Regions from separate parts of the Homo sapiens genome. Here region 1 is linked to region 2. The links are contacts of gene promoters, found by promoter capture Hi-C in blood cells and fetal thymus (Javierre and others, 2016). All regions are on one chromosome and are shown on one strand. The core of a region is centred on a gene start or on the middle of the fragment in contact, and the rest is flanking DNA. Distances in the headings are between cores, read along the strand shown. Region 1 has its middle 17 kb from the start of PRR20E. Region 2 holds the start of PRR20A (proline rich 20A).

Region 1 (3,560 bases), core at 304-2,803, 43 kb after region 2:
CAAATTGGACAGGGTCAAAGTAGCTTCCTCCTGCTGTTCAGACAGTCCTTCATAAAGTGCTCTGGCTTGCTACATTTGTAGTAGCTAAAAACGCGTCTCAGAGACTCTGAGGTTTGTGAGCCTGCAGGGAAGTTATTAGAGCCTCTGCCTTTTCCTTGTATCTTCTTTCTCTTTTTTGGTCTTCCTCCTGGTTCCTATATTAAAGACCAAGGTGGCTACTTTCAGGAAATTCTCTAACATACTATTTTGTTCTATAACCTGTTTCTGTAGCTTCCCTTGATATCAGGGGCTGTCTGTGTGATAAACTTATCTTTTAGGATTAGCTGTCCCTTGACTGAATCAGCAGATAGAGAGGTAGGCTTTACCAAGGCCCTTCTTAGCCTTTCCAGGAAGACAATGGGATTCTGACCTAATCCCTGGCCTATCATGGATGGCTTGGATAATTGAAAGGCTTAAATCTAGTCCTTCATAAGACCTCCAGTATGCATACCTGAAGGTGTCTCTTCCTCCATTCTCCCATTTCATCATTGGGGTCTCATTTAGGACCCACCAATGGTATTGCTATTCTTCCAGTCACATAACTTTCATCCCCTTCCTTGGCCCTTTATGAGATACAAAAAGTCATCCCCAAAATGATCTGCTGTTTTTAGAGTGGCCTTTCAGCAGTAATCAGGGTTTGATTCACAAGCAACATGACATCATTCCAGGAGAGTTCAAATACCTGGGTTAAATTCAGGAAAGCCTCTATATACACCTCTCAGGATCGTCTGCAAACTTGCCAAGATCCCCCTTAATTTTCCTTAAGAACTGTAGAGAAAAGGGGACTTGGACCTTAATGGGGCCCTATTCACCAGGCATCTGTTGTAGGGGCAGGAGTGACACTGGGACCTGCCTAAAATATGTTTTTTAGGATGAGGTAAACTTGGAAGACCACCTGGATAGAGAGGTGTAGAGGCAGTTGATTCCTTAACTGGAGGGACCTCTGGGGTTTGTTTCCCTAGTTCCCGAGATTGCCCCTTGCAGCCTTTCCTGAGGTGGATGCTAGGAGGCTGAATCAATCCTACAATATTGGCAAAGGTCTGGACTATCCTGCAAGACAAAGAAGGCTTGCACAAATGAGGCCTTAGGCCACTTGCCCTCACATTTCCAGAAAAGGTCCAGCTACAGAATATTATTAAAAAAAAATGCTTCCTTCCTGAGGTTAAGCTTCTCCTTCCTGCATAACATAATTCAGCCACACCATTGTGCAAAGGAATATGAGGCACTTTTTCTTCAGGGTCTGAGAGTCAAAGTAGTCACAGTGATTCAGGATACACTCTAGAGGGGTGCAGGCTGAAGAGTGTTGGTTACACATCTGGAAAAGAGGACAGAGGATGAAAAAGTTTTCTTCCTCTCTCTTTCTAGCCTGAGGGTCAAAGGGGTCCCAGTGATTCAGGATGCACTCGAGAGGAGTCAGGTTGAAGTTGGTTGGTTACCCACCTGGAAAGAAGGAGAAAGGCATCCTTTTGTTATTTTATCTTTCCAGCTAATACCTGGGGTACATGAGGAAGAGAAAAAAGGCATCCCTGTTTTTCTTCCAACCTTATATTCCTGAGTCCTGGTGACCTGTGCAGGTGGCAACCATGGGTGCACATGTGACCTTGACCCATGAAGCAGGAAGCCGTAGCTGGCAGAAATATTCACACTCACCTGAGCTGTGCCTAAGCCTTCCACTGTCAATAACCTTTAAGTTCTCTAGACCGTATCTAAGCCATGAATGTGAGCATGACCTCCTTCCATGAAGCAGAAGAGCCTAATCGGCAGGAATTAGTCATGCTCACCTGTGCTGTGCCCCTAGACTTATGCTGTCTTTTGCCTTTGTATCCCTCAGATCTAGTTTTCCTTTCTAGGGCCTCAAACTGAAGCTTGGGAAAAAGGTGTCTCAGGAGGGTGTATGAACCGATTAAATTAGTCCCAGGCGGCCCTCACCAAATTGCAGCCAGTAACCAGCAGGGCAGTCCTTCGGTTGCTTCCCTTTCATAAGCAGGCAAAGCTGTGGGACCAGGTCCTCCTCAACCAAGGGAGAGGAAGGAAGTCCCTGGAGTTGGGGATCTAGCCCAACAATGTGCCTCCTAAAAGGACAACTTAAGTGCAGGGGAGGGGAAGGTGCCTAGGGAAAAAAGCCTCTTGCCCTATGCATGTGGGTTCCTCCAACAGGGGAAAGAAAACTCAACTGTTATATTCTCCTTGATTCTAAGAATAGACAGACACCACATTGTTCTCATTTACACTCCTGATGACTAAGCCAAATGCTCATTCTACCCAGTAATATTTCTGTAGTTTACAATAACATTATATACATTTAACATTGTATATAAAGAAGAGATAGGAACCATGATAGCCATGAAAATAAGAAAGGAAGAACAATAGGAAAGACTGGATGGAGGTCCTAGTACTGACACCCTAATGGGCAATCAGGGACTAAAGTTAGTCCAGGGGCCTTTGGAGAACTTTGAGGTGTGGCCTCAGCCAGCTACCCTCAGTTTCCCCCGGACCGCCTTCTGGCCCCATATGACAGCCAGACCTTCGTGACGGGAAGCTGGGTTGGAACAAAGTCAACATTCCCAACACCCAGGAGTGATGGGGGATTGCCAGTGTCCTCCCCAGCAAGCCTGTCCTGTGTGTCTTAAGTCAGGCAGGCTGCTCCCTCTCTTCCTCTTTTTGTCTTTCTCTTTCTCCCTCTCCTCTTCTATCCTATCTTTTAGTCTAATATTCCTCTACCTAAACATTCAGTATCAAAATTCTTCAAGTATTTATTTTAGGCTCAGTAAAATTAAACAGTCCAGATAGTAAATATTTTAGGGTTTGCAGGTCATATGGTTTCTGATGAAACTACTCAATTTGCTCTTTATAACATAAAAATAGCGGTATATATTATAGAAGTTAATGGCATGGCTGTGTTCCAATAAAACTGCATTTACAAAAGCAGACAGCACCCAGATTTGGCCAGCAAGTTGTAGTTTGCCAGTCCCCTCTTTAGGCTCTCTCTTTCTCTCTCTCTTTCTCCTCTCTCTCTCTCTCTCTCATCTGTAAGTTATGGTATCTTTCCCATATGTTAAAATACACACAAACTCTGACCACCGGTTAATAATATACATTGAGTCCAAAACTCTTCTGAGCTCTAGTCCTGTTTCCAATCAAATATTAGGTATTTTTCCACATGGATGTATCAATGGAACTGAGACAAAATATATCACAAATGCAATGTATGATTTTTCTTATCAATTTTCTCTTATTTCAACTTCCCAATATAAATATGTGGTGATACCATCCAGCCATTGTTGAAAATAAAGTACAGGCTCCTTTGGCTCTTCTCTCTTCATGAAGCACCTGTGAATTACCAAGTTATATTGATTTAACATTAAAATGTATCTCAAATTCAGCCAAGTTTCTCCATTGCAATTGTGAGTTCTCTAATTTAATCTACAATTATATCTTGCCTTTAATGCCTCCTATTTGTCTCTTCACTGTTTAATACACTACCTATTATTCTATTCTCCTGAAGTTAAGTTATACTCACA
Region 2 (3,885 bases), core at 517-3,016:
TAGTTTGCTGAGATGGGAGGTTGACAAAGGGACACGGAAGCCAACTAAAGGAGCTCCCGGTGGCCAAAGCTGGAAACATTGAGTAACAAAGTAATTACCTAAATAATTAATAATTAAATAGTTAAGTAAAATACTTGACAAAATAATTAGTTCAATTATTAAATAATTCATCCCCTGAAGTACTGGAGTGTAAACCAAAGCATACAATAGGTGTCCATAAGTCCATACGGATATAAATAAGTGATTAAATAAACAAACATGTGGGGGAGAATGGGAAAATCCTCCACACAGGAGAACTCCACAGAACTTAGGTAGCTATTCCCCTGCAAGGAGATAAAGCAAAACTTCCCTTTTCTTTACGTATAGGCTACAGGTAGCGACTTCCAGAAAGCACAGTAGAGAAAGAGGTGGGAAAATCACTTTATGGTGGAGAAACCTAATCAACACTGCCCCAGCCCGGTGACCAGGACTAATAGCAGCAGTGATAAGCCGGCTTGATGGTGTGTACTCTAGACAGGATGGGATGGGAATGGCGCTTTCCCGCTGCAATCTTCCTGACAAAAACATATAATTCCAGTCAGATCACAAGGAATACATCACACGAACTTCAGGAGAGGACATCCCACAATATATCTGATCAGTATTCAAAGTGTCAGAGTCATCAAAAACAAGGCAAGTGTGAGAAACCGTCGCAGCCAAGGGGAACCGTGACGAGTTGTAAGGTGGTACCCTGGATGGGGTCTTGGGACAGAAAAGGTATGTGAGGTGAAAGCATAGCAAAACCTCACTTCAACAGGAAATACAACCCAAAAAAGTAATTGGCCCGGCATGGTGGCTTGCGCCTGGGGTCCCAGCGACTCGGGAGGTTGAGCGGGACGGACGGCTTGAGCTCAGGCCTTCCAAACAAGCCTGGGCACATAGCGAAAACTCGTCTCTCCAAAAAAATCCGAAAATTATCCCGATGTGGTGGCGCTCACCTGTAGTCCAGCTACTCCGGAGGCCGAGACAGGAGAATCACTTGAACTGATTCTCCTATCTCAGCCACCCCCCCCCAACCCCCCCAAGTAGCCGCAGCGAGCCGAGATGGCACCGCTGCACTCCAGCCTGGGCTACAGAGCGAGAACCAGTCTCTGTAAAAAACACAAGGATGCAAACCAACCAAATAACCCACTGTGGGATCCCCTCCAGCGTCCTGCTGTGTTTCCCGCTGTCTTCCTCCACCCGTGAGTGCACCCACAGCAATAAAAGCCAGCGGTGTGGGTCTCACACGCATCTCCAGCCCCGTCTCACACGCACCACCTCCGGGCCTGGACTTGGCCTCCCGTCCATTCCCAGAATGTGCCGGGCTCCCTTCCAGTCCGGGCCTCAGCACACTCTCTTCACTCCCCTTCCTCCCTCCCTGCCTCTCCCAACCCGGTTCAGGATGACTAATTTCAAACGTTATGTTCCAGATTTCAGCCCAGATATCCCCGCTTTGGATGCTTTCCTTGACCATGCTCAGATCTAAGCTAATCGCATCTTCCTGTCAGCCGCTTTCAGGGCACCACACCTCATTGTGCTGACACTCAGAGGTCATTATGCAATTTTTTTTCCTCGATGATTAGATTAATCAATCAACCACGGACGTCTAGAAATGGCGGCATCTCAGAAGGGCCCCCATTTGACTGGCAGGGGACTGGCCCAATGCGCCTCGCAAGCCCAGCCAGGCCCGCCCCAGCCGGCCCCCCTCTGACGACGCCTGTCCCTTACGCGACTGCCTTGCTGCCATATAAGAGGGACGGCGCTCGGCCTCCAGCAGTCGGCTTTCTGCTGGGCTCGGAGCCAGAACCTGCTGCGTGCTCCCTCCAGACTCCCTGGCTGCGGGTGGACTACCTCAGAGCTACAGCGGTGAACCTGTGGACACCTCCGACTCCTCGGGCCTCTCTTCGTCGAAGAGTCTCCTAATTTTCAGATCTCCGGAGCCAGCTGTGGGAAGATCAGGTGTGTGTCTGGGGGTCCCGGAGGCGTGGACGGATCTCGGGTGGGTGCAGTTGGGGACAGAATCCTCATTCCCCTAGAAAGGCCACGGCCATCCCCCTGCCTTGTCACCTCTGTCTTCCTAAATCCGTTCTTGCTCTCTTGTTTTTCTCCCCAGCCCCTCCCGCCGATTGCTCATGGAGGAACCAAGGCCTTCGAAGCGACTTCGCTCCATGGCCCCTAATCAAGGTACATCAAACGCCTGCCACTCCTCTCTTTTTAATTTCGTCTGTTCCCCAATTCTTCCCCAATGGTTGACACTCAAACTCAATCAAGCATTCTCTGTTTCACCTTCTCCTAGCCTGCCTCAACCTGGGCTGCTTGTTGGAAGTCAGCTCCCGGGTTCCACATCATCTGGGAAATTCCTTTCCCTCTTCCGAACCGTAATCCCATTTCCCAAATCTGAGATTTGCTGTTGTTGTCGCTGTTTCCTTCTGTTTAGTTTTGTATTACTGTTTCTCCGTAGCAGAGCGAGTCCTCACGCTACGTCTTGATCTATGATAAACCGGTACTTCCACCTTGTTCTTTCCCGGAGGAGTTGGAATTTTCCGGCTGTTGCCACGTTGTTCTCCAAAACTTTTCCCTTCATACGCTGAGTGTCCTAAATCTTTTAATCTTGTCTAGTTTGACAGATGCATAACAATAAAGCATCCACTGAAAGGAAATTCTTTAACATCTTGCTTGTCTGAAACATCTTCATTCTCCCCTCCCAGATTCTTCAGCGAAACTTCGGTTGGACAGGAAATTTTAGGTGGGAAATTCATTTCCCTTGAAATTTCGAAGACATTTTCTGTTATGTTCTAGACTGAACTGCTGCTTTTGAGATGTCTGACTTTTGAGACATGTGGAATCCTAGCCCTTTCCATGTGACTTTTCCTTTCTCTGTCTCCCGCTCTCTAGAATCTGTTAGAATCTTCTCTTTTTCCTCAGCACTCTGAAATTTTCTGGTGAAATGTCTCAGCCACAGCATACCTCTAATTCTCTTATATTTCATCCTTCTTTCCATCATTTTAGGTTTTTGCTTTGTTCTGTGGGAGACCTTCTCAACTTCATTCTCCAACTTCCGTGGAGAGTTTTGTTTCTTCTCTCACAATTTTAACTTCAGAAATCCCTCTTTTCTCTGAGTATTTATTTGTAAAAGTATCCTATAACTGCTTGACGGGTGAAGTTCCTTCTGTCTCTCTCTGCTCACGCTCCGCTTCTCTTTTAGCCTCAGGTGGGCCTCCTCCAGAGCCAGGCTGCTGTGTTGCGGACCCTGAAGGCTCCGTGGAAGCAGATGGGCCCGCACAGCCAGCCCAACCCGCAAAACCCATCGCTTACGTGAAACCCTTCAGACGGCAGCCCCCAGCTCGCCCAGAGTCACCCCCTCCTGCAGAGAGAGGCCGGCGCCGGGGAGGAAGCCGGCGGCCAGGGCGAGGCCGTGGCAGAAGGGCTGGGCCCCGCGGGGACGCTGGCCAGAGACAGGGGGCAGAAGGCTTGATGGCACCGGACGTGCACATCCAACTGGACCACCATGGAGAGCCAGGCCACCAGGGGGAACCGGAAATCACGGAGACCGCAGCCTTCTCCCTTTCTGAAACAGGTCCTCCGCCTGGAACTGTGCAGGAAGGCCCTGGCCCCGACGTGGCGCAACCTGAGCTGGGGTTTCAGGAGCCGCCCGCTGCTCCTGGGCCTCAGGCTGTTGACTGGCAACCCGTCTTGACCCTCTATCCCTGCATCGGGTTTAGGGCTCTGGGTGACTCAGCGGTTTTACAAGTCATTCAAACCCCCCAGGGCACCTACGTGCAAGGGGTCCCAGTGTTCCTCACCGACATTGCGTATTGACCACTATCTGCCACCCACGTTGTTCCCAGCCTCCCTTCCTTCCAC

What was found. The method cuts DNA at HindIII sites, captures the fragments that hold promoters and counts their contacts. A CHiCAGO score of 5 or more calls a contact.
Region 1: a fragment that was not itself captured here is called in contact with the fragment with the promoter of PRR20A in region 2 in 10 of 17 cell types (neutrophils, fetal thymus, erythroblasts and 7 more); the score reaches 10.9 in neutrophils.

The regions. Positions count from the first base shown.
Region 1 is chr13:57,182,484-57,186,043 of GRCh38, forward strand. No RefSeq gene overlaps it. Among named protein-coding and RNA genes, the nearest start is that of PRR20E, 17 kb to the left of the region's middle. The HindIII fragment of the contact is 698 bases long and covers 1,205-1,902 here.
Region 2 is chr13:57,139,152-57,143,036 of GRCh38, forward strand. PRR20A (proline rich 20A) reads left to right here and starts at 1,767. Exons shown (of 3, transcript NM_198441.2): 1 at 1,767-1,980; 2 at 2,135-2,205; 3 at 3,227-3,885. The coding sequence starts at 2,154. The coding sequence ends at 3,840. The HindIII fragment of the contact is 41,430 bases long and covers 1-3,885 here.